Linked DNA regions of Homo sapiens: region 1 is linked to region 2. The links are contacts of gene promoters, found by promoter capture Hi-C in human tissues and cell types (Jung and others, 2019). All regions are on one chromosome and are shown on one strand. The core of a region is centred on a gene start or on the middle of the fragment in contact, and the rest is flanking DNA. Distances in the headings are between cores, read along the strand shown.

Region 1 (6,852 bases), core at 2,422-4,921, 47 kb after region 2:
AAGGATGGACCCAAGTATCACTCTAATTCCCCAAGGCCCAGCTGAAACAGAGGAAAACATCATGGTGACAACTGGCAGCAGAGGTCCTCATAGCTGGGGAAACACCTTGGCAACTGTTAGGGCAAATGGCGGAGCAGAGGACGCAGACATCGGCCAGCACCTGGGCCACCATGCAGAGGCTTCAGCTGCTGGAAGGAAGGAAAGAGGAGGGGGAGAGAGAAGGGCCAGGAAGGCAGAAGGTGAGAGAAGCCTGCCTCCAAGAGGCTGGCTCCTGTGGGGGCCGGCCTGAGGATGTTCCCTGGGGACAGGGTGGCCGTGGGCCATTTCAGCTGTGCAGATGCCCGATGGAAGCTTGTGTTTCTGTGATGTGAAATCTCCCTGTCTCTCTGCAGTCCCTGAGCTTCAGAAACGCCCATGACACCTTGTGGGCAGGGGTTCTCTATAGGACTCCTGGAAGAGTAGACAAGTAACTGACAAGCGGCACCATGGGAAAAGCAGAGGCTGTAGAGGTGTCAGCAGCCCTGCCCTGGGAATGTGCAGAAAACTTGGGAGGGCATTGGCCATCCCCAGATCACACAACAGGACATCCCACGGAGGGCTGTGGCCTTCCTTAGCCCTCTGGGCTCACAATGAGCCAACCTCATGTAGAGTTCAAGGCACGGCCAGGCTCCAGCTGACTTCTGGATCACACCTGCTAAGACCAGGTAGTACCTTTTAATCCAATATTATTACTGAAGGCTTGGGCATAAGAAGAGAGCACTTTAGCATAGAAGGAGCATTCCAAAGTGCTCACCAGGATTGTGGCTCCTGGCACACAAGCTGCGCCCGCCCTCAGGCTTTCCCTGTCCCTATAGGCCTTGGCCTGCTGCCTGCAGGAGGGTTTGCCCACATGTCCTGATGAGAGCTCAGGTGACCATGTCGTCTCTATCTTTGAGGTCTAGTAACCCCCCCTCCCTCTCCAAATGTACCTTCTCTTGCTGGATGTGGTGGCTCACACCTGTAATCCCAGCACTTGGGAGTTTGAGGCAGGAGGATGGTTTGAGTCAGGAGTTTGAGACCAGCCTGGGCAACATAGCAAGACCCCCGTTTCTGCAAAAAAATTAAAAAAAAAAAAATTAGCCGGGCCTGGTGGTATGTACCTGTAGTCCCAGCTGCTCAGGAGGCTGAGGTAAGAGGATCATCTGAGCCCAGGATGTTAAGGTTGCAGTGAGCCATGATTGTGCCATTGCCCTCCAGCTTGGGCAACAGAGCAAGACCCTGTCTCACAAAAAAAAAAAAAAAAAACCCCAATAACAACAAAAAACCCACAAATGTACCTTCTCTGGGCCTAATGAAAGGGAAAAAAATCCCTGCTTACCCTCAGTTGTCAAGATCCCAGCCAACTCTAAGTTGTGAATGGTACAAAGCGGAGCTGTCAGCCTTTTGAACTCCTCTGGGTCAAAGGGTAGGCTATTTTTAAGGCCCCTGGTATGTGTTGCCAAGTTGCCTTCTAGAAACCACATAGGCTGCCCTCTTCCCTAGACATCTGCCAGCACTAAGCATTGCCATCTAATAAATCTCTGCCAAGTTGGTATGAAAAAATCTCATTTTCATTTTTAGTTCTTTGATTACGTGTGTATATTTTAAAAATATGCATATTGTTTCAGGGAAACACTCCCAAACCATGTTTTTCCTCTGTTCTCACACCACCACGACAACAATCATCAACACAGAAGGAGAATTCTGGGACCAGATGTGTGGGGGGTTGTCCCACTAAGCCGCGGACAGCAGCGGGGTGTCCTCCAGTTCAATTCCAACACTGTCTACCTGGAGATAGTCTTACAGCCCACAGGTTGAGGGCTCAGTCCCAAGACTATCCCTGACCCAGACACAAGTCTGGCCCTTCGGAACTTCTGACCGACCAACTTCAAGTTGGGGTTCCCACAACGCCCTCTTTGGGTTTGATCAATTTGCTGGAGTGACTCACAGAACTCAGGGAAACACATTAGCCCGTTGATTCTAAAGGATGTTACAAAGGACACTGATGAAGAGATGCACAGGGCAAGGTATAGGGGAAGGGGCATGGAGCTTCCAGGAACCTCCGTGTGCTCAGCTCTCCGGAAGCTCTCTGAACCCTGTCCTCTTGGGGTTTTTATGGAAGCTTCATGATGTCAGCGTTCCTTCTCTCAGGGCATAGGACAGAACCCTCTCTGGGGAGAGTCTTAAGACCCACAATCAGAAAGGCGGGGGAAGATACGAGTCCTGCCTTGCGGCAGGTGAAAGGAGAGCTGGAGAAGGCCAGAGAGATTCTGTTTCCTGAGGCCTAACACAGCCACTGTCATAACACGAGACTGTAACAGGGACTATGGGGGTTCCGAGCCAGAAACTGTGGACAAAAGCCAACACGTGTGTACTTATCATAACACCACACATGTCACTTCTTGTGAATGATATTAGTAATAATGAAAAACCTATTTCCAGTGTCGCGAATCTCTATTTAGATGTGAGAAAAAATGTTTGACTTATGTGAAGCAGAGAAGGTTTCCTTATCTGTGCAGCTCTCGTTATGAGGTCTGAGGCTGGAGTGCGGGAAAGAAGAGCAAAACGAGAAAAACAAAAAAGAGGGGAAAGAGAAGATGAGAAGAAAATAAAAGTGGCAAGAAGAGATAAAAAGACAAAAAAGCCAATTGCTCTAATTGCTCTGCGTCTTGTCCTGGGTGCCATGCCTGGGAGACAGGCAGGTAGGCGATGGGCTGAACAAGGTCTGTCCAGCACACTCTGCATTCTGCCACATCATGTGCAGGCCAGTGGTTCCCAGACAATGTGGCTTCAGGACCCCTTTACACTCTTAAAAAGTGTTAAGGATCTCAAAAAGCTCTTATCTATGTAGATATCTATCAGTGTTTCCTGTGTTAGAAATTAAAACAAAGAAACTGGCTGGGCGTGATGGCTCACGCCTGTAATCCCAGCACTTGGGGAGGCCGAGAGGGTGGATCACGATGTCAGGCGTTCAGCCTGGCCAGCATGGTGAAACCCCGTCTCTACTAAAAATACAGAAAAATTAGCCAGGCGTGGTGGTGGTTGCCTGTAATCCCAGCTATTTGGGAGGCTGAGGCAGAGAATTGCTTGAACCCGGGAGGCGGAGGTTGTAGTGAGCCGAGATTGTGCCACTGTACTCCAGCCTGGGTGACAGAGCGAGACTCTTGTCTCAAAAAAAAAAAATAAATTTAGTGAGAAGAGAAGCATTATTTTTACATTTCCACAGATCTCTGTGATGCTGGGCTTTATGAAAGATGGTTGGCCTCTCCTATCTCTATTCAGTCTATTGTGGTATCACACAGCATACAGCCTCCAGAAAACTCCACTGTACACTCACTAAAGGAAGACAGTGGAAAAGGAAATACTAACAACATTTCAGTATTATTATGAAAATAGTTTTGACCTTGTGGATCCCCAGAAAGTGTCCCAAGACCACCCTTCCCCACAGAGTGCCTGAGCCACACTTTGAGAAGTGCTGATCTAGGCCGGGGAATTGATGGAATCCACCCCATTCTTCCCAGGAAGGCAATCTTACAATAGCTATCAAGAACTTTAAAAGCAGGATGGGCGCGGTGGCTCACGCCTGTGATCTCAGCACATTGGGAGGCCAACGCGGGCAGATCGCAAGTTCAGGAGTTCGAAACCAGCCTGGTCAACATGGTGAAACCCCGTCTCTACTAAAAATACAAAAATTATCTGGGTGTGGTGGCAGGTGCCTGTAATCCCAGCTACTCGAGAGGCTGAGGCAGGAGAATCGCTTTAACCCGGGAGACAGACGTTGCAGTGAGCTGAGATTGCGCCATTGCACTCCAGCCTGGGTGGAAGAGTGAAACTCCGTCTCAAAGAAAACAAACAAACAAACAAACAAAAAAAGAGCCATAAAAGCATTAGGGCCTGTTGATGTAGTGATTCCTCTTTGGGGACTATATTTTATATTTATTAATTTTATTTTTTGAGACAGGGTCTCAGTCTGTTGCCAAGGCTGGAGTGCGGTGGCACCATCCCAGCTCACTGCAGCCTTGACCCCCCTGGCTCAGATTATCCTCCCACCTCAGCCTCCCGAGGAGTTGGGATTACAGGCGCACGCCACCAAACCGGACTATTTTTTGTAAAGATAGGGTCTCCCAATGTTTCCCAGGCTAGTCTCAAACTCCTGAGCTCAAGCAATCCTCCTGCCCCTGCCTCCCAAAGTGCTGGGATTACAGGCGTGAGCCACCTCGCCCAACCCTCAGGGAATATATTTTAAAACAATAATTCCCAAAGGAAGGAAAAACTTCCTAAATGACCTATAATTGGGGAATGGTTAAATAAATGCTGGCATATACATTTAATAGAATATTATGTGGTTTAAAAGGATAATGATGAAGACTCTGCACTGGCATGGAAGGAATATCTACAGCTCTAAGTGAAAAAATCCGAATTATATAACTGACTCTTCACCATGCCTGCCAATGTCATGCTGGCTCTGCCTGGAAACAAAGCCTCAAAGGCAACGAGAGAAAGTAGGTTCTATTCCATATATAGGGTAGGGACTATGGGAGAATTTTTCCTTCTCTTTTTGGTTTATTTTGATTTATTTATTACTATTATTATTATTTTGCAATTAGTGAAAACAAAAATCAGGACTGTTGAATCTGTCTTGCTTCCCCAGGTCAGTGCGGTTGGGAGGTGTGTGGAGAGCAGCCACCCAGACCCAGAGGTCAGGAGATGGGGAGGGAGGAAGGAGTGGGGGAGGCTCTGAGTGGGGAAGTCAGGCCTGGAGGGGCTGATAGCTCAGCTGGTTCTAAGTTCCCTTTCAGTGCTGACTGAGAAAGCTCTCCTAAGCAGCTGTTGTCAGAGGCCTGCGGGAGACACAGACCAAGCATAGGGGCTGTGCTTTGCCTCACCAAGGGAGGAAGCTGTGGGGGCGGCCAGGGGGTGGGCGGCGGTGGCAACTGCAGCACCCAAGACCTCTTGGAGAGAACTGAAGTCAGTGGCCACACCCATGTCACAAAGGAGCCGGGCGGGCACTGCAGGCTTCATCCACTGATGGGGAGCTTGACAGACACCAAAGCCACCGTGGCCTGGTGAGGCGGGATGCCGAGTTTCTGCTTAGGTAGGACAGGGCCAGATTTGTATTTTAGGAAGCCTCGCTGTAGCTGGGTGCAGGCTATGTTAGGAGTTGGAGGGGGGGCACCAGCTGAAGTTGAACACAATGGTACTTTAAAAAATAGCACTAAAAGGCTGGATGTGGTGGTCGACACTTGTAATCCCAGCACTCTGGGAGGCTGAGGTGAGAAGATTGCTTGAGCCCAGGAGTTCGAGACCATCCTGGGCAATATAGTAAGACCTAGTCTCTACAAAAGTTAAAAATTAGCCTGGCATGGTGGTGTGCCCCTGTGGTCCCAGCTACGTGGGAGGCTGAGGCACGAGGATTGCTTGAGCCTGGGATGTCGAGGCTGCAGTAAGCTATGATTGGGCTACTGCACTCTAGCCTGAGAGACAGAGTGAGACCCTGTCTCAAAAAAAAAAAAAAAAAAGGTCATAAAGTTGACCAACAGACACTCCCTACTGGAGTGGAGAGTATGGGATGGGCTTTATTCCCCTGAGCTAAAAATGTAACCAGGGTCCCAATTATACCTTGCAACTTAGATGCAATCTTCTAGGATTGCAAATGTGCTCTTTCATCGTGCTCTTGCCCTTTGCATTGGAGCCCAGTTGGCTGGTGCACGTCCAAGGTGCAGCTGGCAGGCTCCAGCTTTGCTGCTGCAGCACACCTAACCAACTTCAGTAAGATCGCCCCATAACCAACAAAACTCTGGTGGTGCTGACCAAGGGGAGACTGATACACAAACTGGGTTGTTGGCAGCCAGGCAGGTTCCCACACCCATAGTGGAAAGGAGCGATTTGTCAGCTAATGGCTCTTTCTGGCTTGGGCATGATGAAGGAATGGAAGGCGTGGGTCTGTGGTGTGGCCAATGTGACAGGGCCGTCAGAAAGTTGAATACACTGAAGTCAAACATAGGAAATGAGCAATAGGGTTAGTTCAGCATGAACCTATGCCAATTCTTATTTACTTTTTGGGGTTCACTAAAATATGATGTGATTAAGATGTTCTGCTCTCTAGTTTGGTGTGTGTCTCAAAGAACCTCAGTGGAGTCCTAAAGAACCACATGAGCACCCCCAGCCACAGCTGCCTTGCCCTGGCCCCTGCCCCAGTTAGGCCCTGGAGGTCCCTAAAAGGTCTGATGGGCTGGGCCTGCTTTCTTCCAGCTCTGCCAGAGTGGAAACTTGGCCCCAGCTATGGCCTGGTCCAGGTGTGGGCTGCAGTGGGAACTTGTCCCATGCTACTGGGACACCCTGCTTCCACAACCATCAGCTTCTGCCAGCGTCATTTCACTGATCTCTAGTTCATTGATCTCTACCCTCCACCACTTACACTGACCTCGTGGCATCTTGGCCTAATACTACAGGGTGCATCTCTTCTGATGAGGACACTTTTTTCTCCACACTCTCCGGTCCTCAGCTTTGTTAAGGTACACGTGACAAAAATTGGATATGTGAATGATGAACAGTGTGAAATTTTGATATATGTATACACTGGGAAATGATTAAATCAAGCTAATGAACACATCCATCGATCACACAGTTATCTTTTTTGTGTGTGTGTGGTGAGAACATTTCAAATTTACTCTTGTAGCAATTTCCAAGTTTACAATACAGAACTATTAACTACAGTCACCATGCTATTATATACAATAGATCTCCAGAACGTATTCCTCTTAACTGAAACACCTTTGACCAACATCTCCCCCTTCCACACCCTCCCTAGCCCTCCAGCCCCTGGCAACTCCC
Region 2 (7,078 bases), core at 4,106-6,605:
AGTTTTTCAGCTCCAGAAAGGAGAGGGGATTGGGTAGGGAAGAGGCTGGGAAGAGGAACAGGACAAGGATGGGGGTTGGGGGGCCTCAGTTCCTGGGGTGGGGGTGTGAGGTCGCCAAGTGGAAGGGCCTCTTCCATTGAGATCTGTGAGGCCCTCAGGTGGGGCAGATGGCGACCCCTCTCCCAGCCCATGCATGTAACCTAGCAGCGCCCAAACGTGGGAACATCTCCAGTCTGTTCCCTGCATGGATGGGGTCTTCCTATGAGGGCGGTGGCAGCCATGACACTGCTCCTGGTGGCTTTTTGGGAAGAGGAAGGAAGGACAGATACTATGGGTGATGTCATGGGGGCCGCCACCAACAGACCAGCCTGGGGGCAGATGTTCCCTGTGGAGACCCCCAGAAAGAGCCCAGCACAGTCTGAAGGGGGCTGACGTCTTGCTATTGTGTGGAGGAGGCATATGAGTTACAAGTAGTTTTTTATCATTAAATTCTGGGCGACATTCGTAGGCAGATCAGGAACCTAAGGCCCCTGCCTATGACACAGGCCACTGAGGGCCCACGGAGGTGCATGGCCAAACAGTGTTTAAACACAAAGCTCCTGAGCGACTCTGTGAAGGGCTGAGGGGGAGAGTGTTCTGAGGAGGGGAGGGCATCTCTGGAGAAAAGAAAAAGGAAGCCCCTGAGGAGGAATCCCAGTGAGGAAGAAAACTGGCACCTCTCTGTACAGGCGGGGTGGGTACCCCGGGGGTGGGGCCGGTCAGAAAGGGCCCTGCCTGCCAACGTCCAGGAAGTGGGCAAAGCAAAGAGGGAAAGAAAGGCTTTCCTTCGGCCTGGGATTCCCAAGAGGAAGTGATACATGATTGCTAATAAGGTCTGGGGGCAGAGCCTGGCCCTGGGGACTGTGTGCCCCGAGGCTCCAGCCCCTCGCGCTTGGAACCTGTAGAAGGTGAGCAGGTTGGGGAGTCCTCTCCCTGGCGCCATCTGCCAGTCCCGAGGCAGAAGGACATCGAAGATGCGGCTATGGCATAGCCCCAGACGACGCCAGCAAGCGGAGCTGCAGGGGCAAGTGGCACAGGAGCAGGAATGCGGGCCGGCGCGAATCAGAGGCCCTGTGGGGACAGAAGGAGAGAGGTGAGGGAGGCACCTGCCCTGGGAGGCTGGGGCGGGGGAGTCTGGAACACAGTCTGAGAAGGCCCCCCACAACGGCAGCAGCTGCAGGATTACCAGGGCGAACGCTGGATTTTTTCCAAGGCATCATTGAGGATTTGGGACTGAACTACCTAAGGAAGGCAGTTCTCCCACAAAATGTTCTCTAACCAAACAGAAGAGAAGACTGACCGCATGGGAAAATGGCTGTTTTATACTGGTGCTACCTGGGAGTAGCAACAGCGACGACAACAACGATGATGATGATGGAGGTGGTGCTGATGGTGCCATGGCTTACACCTTCAGGATGCTTTGCACTTAGCATGCTCATCTCATTTAATTTCACAGTAATCCTGTAAAGGGGATACTGCTGGTCTTGTTTTACAAATAAGGAAACTGAGGCTCAGCTAATTTAAGGGATATGCCCTTTTGGGGAGTAGATTACAGAAGTTGGCTTTCTCAACTCAGGCTTTCTCACGTTTAATTCAGTGAAAATGGAATTTCAGGTGACTGCTCACCTCAGGAGAGGCTGCACTGACATTCCTGGAATTGGAGCTGCCACGTTCCATTGATCTAGAGCATTCTGATCCATCCAGAAGACAACCACAGCTCTAGTTTCCAGTCCCGATCCTATTTTCTGTTTCTGTCCTCCTCTGGTATGGATCCCAGCAGAATGTAGATGATGCCCTCTGTGGTTGGGCAAGATAATTTCTGGCTGGATTATTCCCTCCTGTTTCCTATCTGTAGCCCTGCGTCTTCTTGACAGAGCTACAGATTCTTCTGACCCTAAGCTGCATGAAACAGGTGGTCAACCTGGCAGATTCAATACACTTTCTGCTTAGACTTGCCCACGACACGTACTTTCCCGGAATGAGGAGAGGGGATTCTAAAGGCAAGACTTGTCTTTTTTTTTAATTACAAAAAAGTTTTTAAATTGAGATATCATTCCCAGGCAATAAAATTCACCCTTTTAGAGTGCTCAGTGGTTTTTAGTATATTCACAAAGTTTTGTGGCCATCACCACTAATTTCAGAACGTCTTCATTTCCCCAAAAAGAAACCCCATCTCCATGAGCAGTTACTCCCCACTCTCCCATTTCCCCCAGTCCCTGGCAATACATTTGCCTATTCTGAACATTTCATGTAAATAGAATCATTCGATGTGTGGGTTTCTGGGAGACTGGATTCTTTCACTTAGCCAAGTGTCTATAAGGTTCATCCAGGCTGTACCATGTATCAGGACACTATCTCTTTTTATTGCCAAATAGTATTTCACCATACTCATTGTACTGTGGTATTTCATACCACATTTTGTTTATCCATTCATCAGCTGATGGACATTTGGGTTGTTCCCACTTTTTGGCTATTACAAATGCTGCTGCTTTGAGCATTTGTGTACAAGTTTTGGTGTGCTTCTAATATGCTTAATAAGATGCTTCGAATTCTCTTGGATGTATACTGAGAAGTGGAATTGCTGGGTCATAAGGTAACTTCATGTTCCTCTGAGGAACCACCAGACTGTTTCCACAGCAGCTGCACCATTTTACATTCCCGCCTACAGTGTATGAGGATTCCAGCTTCTCTACATCCTCACCAACACTTGTTATTGTCCATCCTTCTGATTATACCCATCCTAGTGGAAGACTGGCATTTTCTTGAGCTACAATATTTCTGCACACAAAAAGGCTTGGATTTTAGAAAATGGCACGCTTTACTTGCAGGCCCTCATCCTTCATCTCCAACATTCCTTTCTACGCAGAGAATTCCTTTGGAAGAAGTATAGGGTGTCTGCTGTAACCACTGGCGAGCCACCACCATTTCTTGCTTTCTTGCTTTGCCTGTTCAATGGGCCAAATTCTTCTCTGAGTATGAGTCACATGTGTTCATTAAAAGACTTGGGAATGGAAAGTCTTGCTTTCTACCAGTACTGAAGATGCCAGTTCTGAAGATCATAACCCAGAAATGTTTCTCTCACTGGCTGATGATCACAATCTTTACAACATATAGTATGGTGCTCAAAATCAATATCATATGTCAAGAAAGGTTTGATTCCTGGCCATGGAAGGATCATTGGCATGGCATGCCTTATATTTAGCACTCTCATCTCCATCACTTATTTATTTTATGCCCACACAATCCCGGGGGGTAAACTGTGGCCCAGGGAGTGTGGCCTGTTCAAGGCTATGGAGTCGTGGGCACTGGCTCATGGCAGATCCAGGAGATGCTCGGACAGAGATGTTCTTCCTCTTGTGGAGACTCCTAGGCCTCTTGGAATGGAAAGGTCAGTGCTGTGGTTTAAAGTGAGGGTTCTGGAGTCAGAATAGAGTGGGTTTCCCTTCTCAGGGCTACCAGCGTCTGCTCAGGAGCAACCTGTTTGACTCCTATGAGCCTCAGTTTCCCCATCTATAAAATGGAGATAATATGGAAGAACTTTTATAGGATTATCACGTGTGAAAATTAAGACACCTGATCTGAATGCTAGGTACACAGTAAATGCTTAGTGATAATGTTAGTTTGCTATCACCATTATTGTTAGTAGTATAAACCAGCCCACCTCCTGAACTCCACTTGAATTCCCTCTACACAATCCAATGCTTATACAGACACTGTTTGGCTCCCAAGAAGACAGGGAACCACTTTTCCTGACAGCCATTCCATTTTCAGACAGAGCTAATTGTTGGGAAGTTTTTTATGTTGAGCCGAAGGCTTTCTGTCACTAATGTCTTCCATGGGTAAGATTGCTAATTTAGCAAATAAAAATATAGGATGCCCATGCAATACTGGGGACACACATACTAAAAATATTATTTGTTGTTTACTAAAATTAAAATTTAACTGAGAGTCTTGTATTTTGTCTGGCTATCCTATCCATGGGCCTGTATTTGTCTGTTTTCACACTGCTGATAAAGACATATCTGAGACTAGGCAATTTACAAAAGAAAGAGGTTTGTGGAACTTACAGTTCCACGTGGCTGGGGAGGCCTCACAATCATGGTGGAAGGTGAAAGGCACATCTCACATGGCGGCAGACAAGAGAAGAGAGTTTGTGCAGGGAAACTCCCTTTTTTAAAACCATTAGATCTCATGAAACTTATTCACTATCACGAGAACACCACGGAAAAGACCCTCCCCCGTGATTCAATCACTTCCCACTGGGTCCTTCCTACAACACCTGGGAATTCAAGAAGAGATTTGGGTGGGGACACAGCCAAACCACATCAGACCCTTAGATCTCTGAGGACAATAAGGAACAAGTCTATTCACATCTTCCACTTGACAGACAGACATCCTCCAATTCCTTCAATTGACTGTCATACACTAAATGGTCTCCCTGATCCTTCTCATCCTCCATCAACCCAGACTATCTTCCTTGGACTAGTTTGTCAGGCATCTTTTACAGCCCAAAAGGATAGCTTGATGAGGACAGAATAAAGCAGTATCATCACCTCCCTTATTCTAAACCATATACTTCTATAAATGCATCCTTGGTTTTTATTTTTTAGCAGTTGCATGGCACTGCTGATTCCTAGTGAGCAAGTATTACTATGGAACCAAGTTAAATGTTTATATGTATGTGTGGCTGTCTTCAGTGAGACTCAGGATGATGAGAAATGACAAAACCCAGGAATCCTGGTCTCTTGGGTAGAAACAAAAACAAAAACCTTCCCACTCTACAGCACAGCTCCAGGATACACGTTAACCATGCATCACTATCCTACAAGAACCAGCCTTTGGGATGACCCAGAACTCCATCAGCAGGAAGGCTGGAACTGCTGAAGCTAGAAGACAGCCCACCTGCTTTCCTGGATTGAGGGGCTGCCTTCACGTTAGCATCTGGAGATAAAAGGCAGCAAGAGGAGCGGCGGATTTCGGGTGCTGGAAGGGCTTGGAATGCTGGCTGCCGGGAGGTGGTTTCAAGGCTGGAATGCTGTGGTGTGGATTCAGGGCTAGGCTGCTGTGGTGTGGATTCAGGACTAGGCTGCTGTGGTGTGGATTCAGGGCTAGGCTGCTGAGAGGTGGAATTGGAGCTAGCATGCTGGGAGGTGGAGTCTCGGTGGCGTCTGGCCTCTGACCTTTTCTTCTTGACCTTCTTCATGGTAGATCCTCCCAACCTAAACGTGGACCTACATGGAGCTGCGTAATCTCCCGGCTCCCTCCTGGAGGGGCCGTTTGCCCTCTGCCCTAGGAGCCTGGCTTGGGCCTCCAGCTGGACCCAGGCCCCACAGAGAACAGTGACCCACACCTCCTGTGAGGTCATAAAAGCCAGGGTGGCTCCTATGGCAGGGCTTCAAGGGACAGTCTTCTCTGCAGACACCAGCCTGGTGTCCTCCTTCATCCCAGGCTGCCAGGCTAGGCAGGGGACAGCGGCTGCCCTGGTCCTCACAGCCCTGGCTACGGGGCTGGTGACAGCCAGATCCTCATGCTTCTGCGACCTGAGCGCTGCCTTCAGACACCTCTCTGCTGGCGTGTTCCTGGGTCCATGTGAGCTACCTGTTTTGCTCTAAGATACCCTGGATGTGACGCTCAGCTCTGTCACTGGCTTCCACATACCCCCTACTCCTACACCTCAAAAATCCATGTTCCCCACGCATTCATCTTCAGGTCAGCTTCCTGAAGATTTGGAGCTTCTTCGAAGGCTTTACCATGGCCCAGAGCCTGCTACCATCTCAGAGTAGCTTACCCCTTCCCCCAAAGCCTGCCCTCCCGCACTGTGGGAGGGGAGTTTGGGGGTTGACTTGACTTTTATAAGAACCTTTGCATTTGGCAGATAATTTTCCCTGAGAACATAACAGCTGTTCAGAAAACTAACATTTGTCTCAAACTCATGGCAATGGCAACCACAGACTATCTCCCAAACCCCAATTGGTTGGGTTAAACAGGTGACTGAATCTTTCTCTAGATTAATTAATTTAATGTGCTCATTAAATGTGATTTTTGTTTTAGGATGGAAGAAGGAAAAGTATTTTTAAAAGACAATCTGAAGCTCATACTGTGACTGCAACATAAAATGTGTTCACCTGAGGAGACTGCTTTCATCGCCAGTGTGTCACAGGTGGGTGAGTGTGGGACTGGCAAGCGCAGGAGCTCCTGCCCCAGCGGAAGGTTTAGAGCAGACCTATGCAGATAAAAAGGGCTTCGGTCACGCCTGTAATCCCAGCACTTTGGGAGGCTGAGGCGGGCAGATCACGAGGTCAGGAGATTGAGACCATCCTGGCTGACATGGTGAAACCCCGTCTCTACTAAAAATACAAAAAATTAGCCGGGCGTGGTGGTGGGTGCCTGTAGTCCCAGCTACTCGGCAGGAGAATGGCGTGAACCTTGGAGGTGGAGCTTTCAGTGAGCCGAGATCGTGCCACTGCACTCCAGCCTGGGCGACAGAGCGAGACTCTGTCTTAAAAAAAAATGGGGGGCTTTGGGCCACACAAAGCCAGACCCAACATGAACTCTGAAATGACAGGACATAGTTTAGGGCTTCTAGAGCCTAAAAATACCTTAATGATGACCTTTCCTCAGAACACTGAGGTTTAGCGAAATTAAGTTACTTTCCCAGGGTCACACAGCTGGCTGGGGGCATCGGAAGGACTAAATTCCAGTTTGGGGCTCATTATTTTCATGATCCCAGAAAACAATAGGGAGTCAGATAATTATACAGGCTTTGAAATAATGAATTAAAAAGTCCCCCAGTGGCCTGGTGCGGTGGCTCACGCCTATAATCCCAGCACTTTGGGAGGCTGAGGCGGGCAGATCATGAGGTCAAGAGATTGAGACCATCCTGGCCAACCAACATGGTGAAAACCTGTCTCTACTAAAAATACAAAAATTAGCTGGGCATGGTGGTGCACGCCTGTAGTCCCAGGTACTCAGGAGGCTGAGGCAGGAGAATCACTTGAACCTGTGAGGCGGAGGTTGTGGTGAGCCGAGATTGTGCCAC

Evidence for each region. The method cuts DNA at HindIII sites, captures the fragments that hold promoters and counts their contacts. A contact is called where the count stands out against the background at its distance.
Region 1: a fragment that was not itself captured here is called in contact with the fragment with the promoter of SPATA3 in region 2 in 16 of the 25 tissues and cell types used here (H1 embryonic stem cells, IMR-90 fibroblasts, adrenal gland and 13 more).

Annotation. Positions count from the first base shown.
Region 1 is chr2:230,946,189-230,953,040 of GRCh38, reverse strand. It overlaps a transcript of GPR55 not described here. Among named protein-coding and RNA genes, the nearest start is that of GPR55, 24 kb to the right of the region's middle. RefSeq lists enhancers at 2,223-2,282, 2,413-2,462, 2,653-2,722, 2,933-2,982, 6,280-6,439. The HindIII fragment of the contact is 9,664 bases long and covers 1-6,852 here.
Region 2 is chr2:230,994,398-231,001,475 of GRCh38, reverse strand. It overlaps SPATA3 (spermatogenesis associated 3), which reads right to left and starts at 5,355. Exons shown (of 5, transcript NM_139073.5): 1 at 4,942-5,355; 2 at 939-1,110. The coding sequence starts at 5,242. It overlaps SPATA3-AS1 (SPATA3 antisense RNA 1), which reads left to right and starts at 5,444. Exons shown (of 6, transcript NR_033879.1): 1 at 5,444-5,628; 2 at 6,091-6,199. RefSeq lists an enhancer at 5,311-5,844. The HindIII fragment of the contact is 25,386 bases long and covers 1-7,078 here.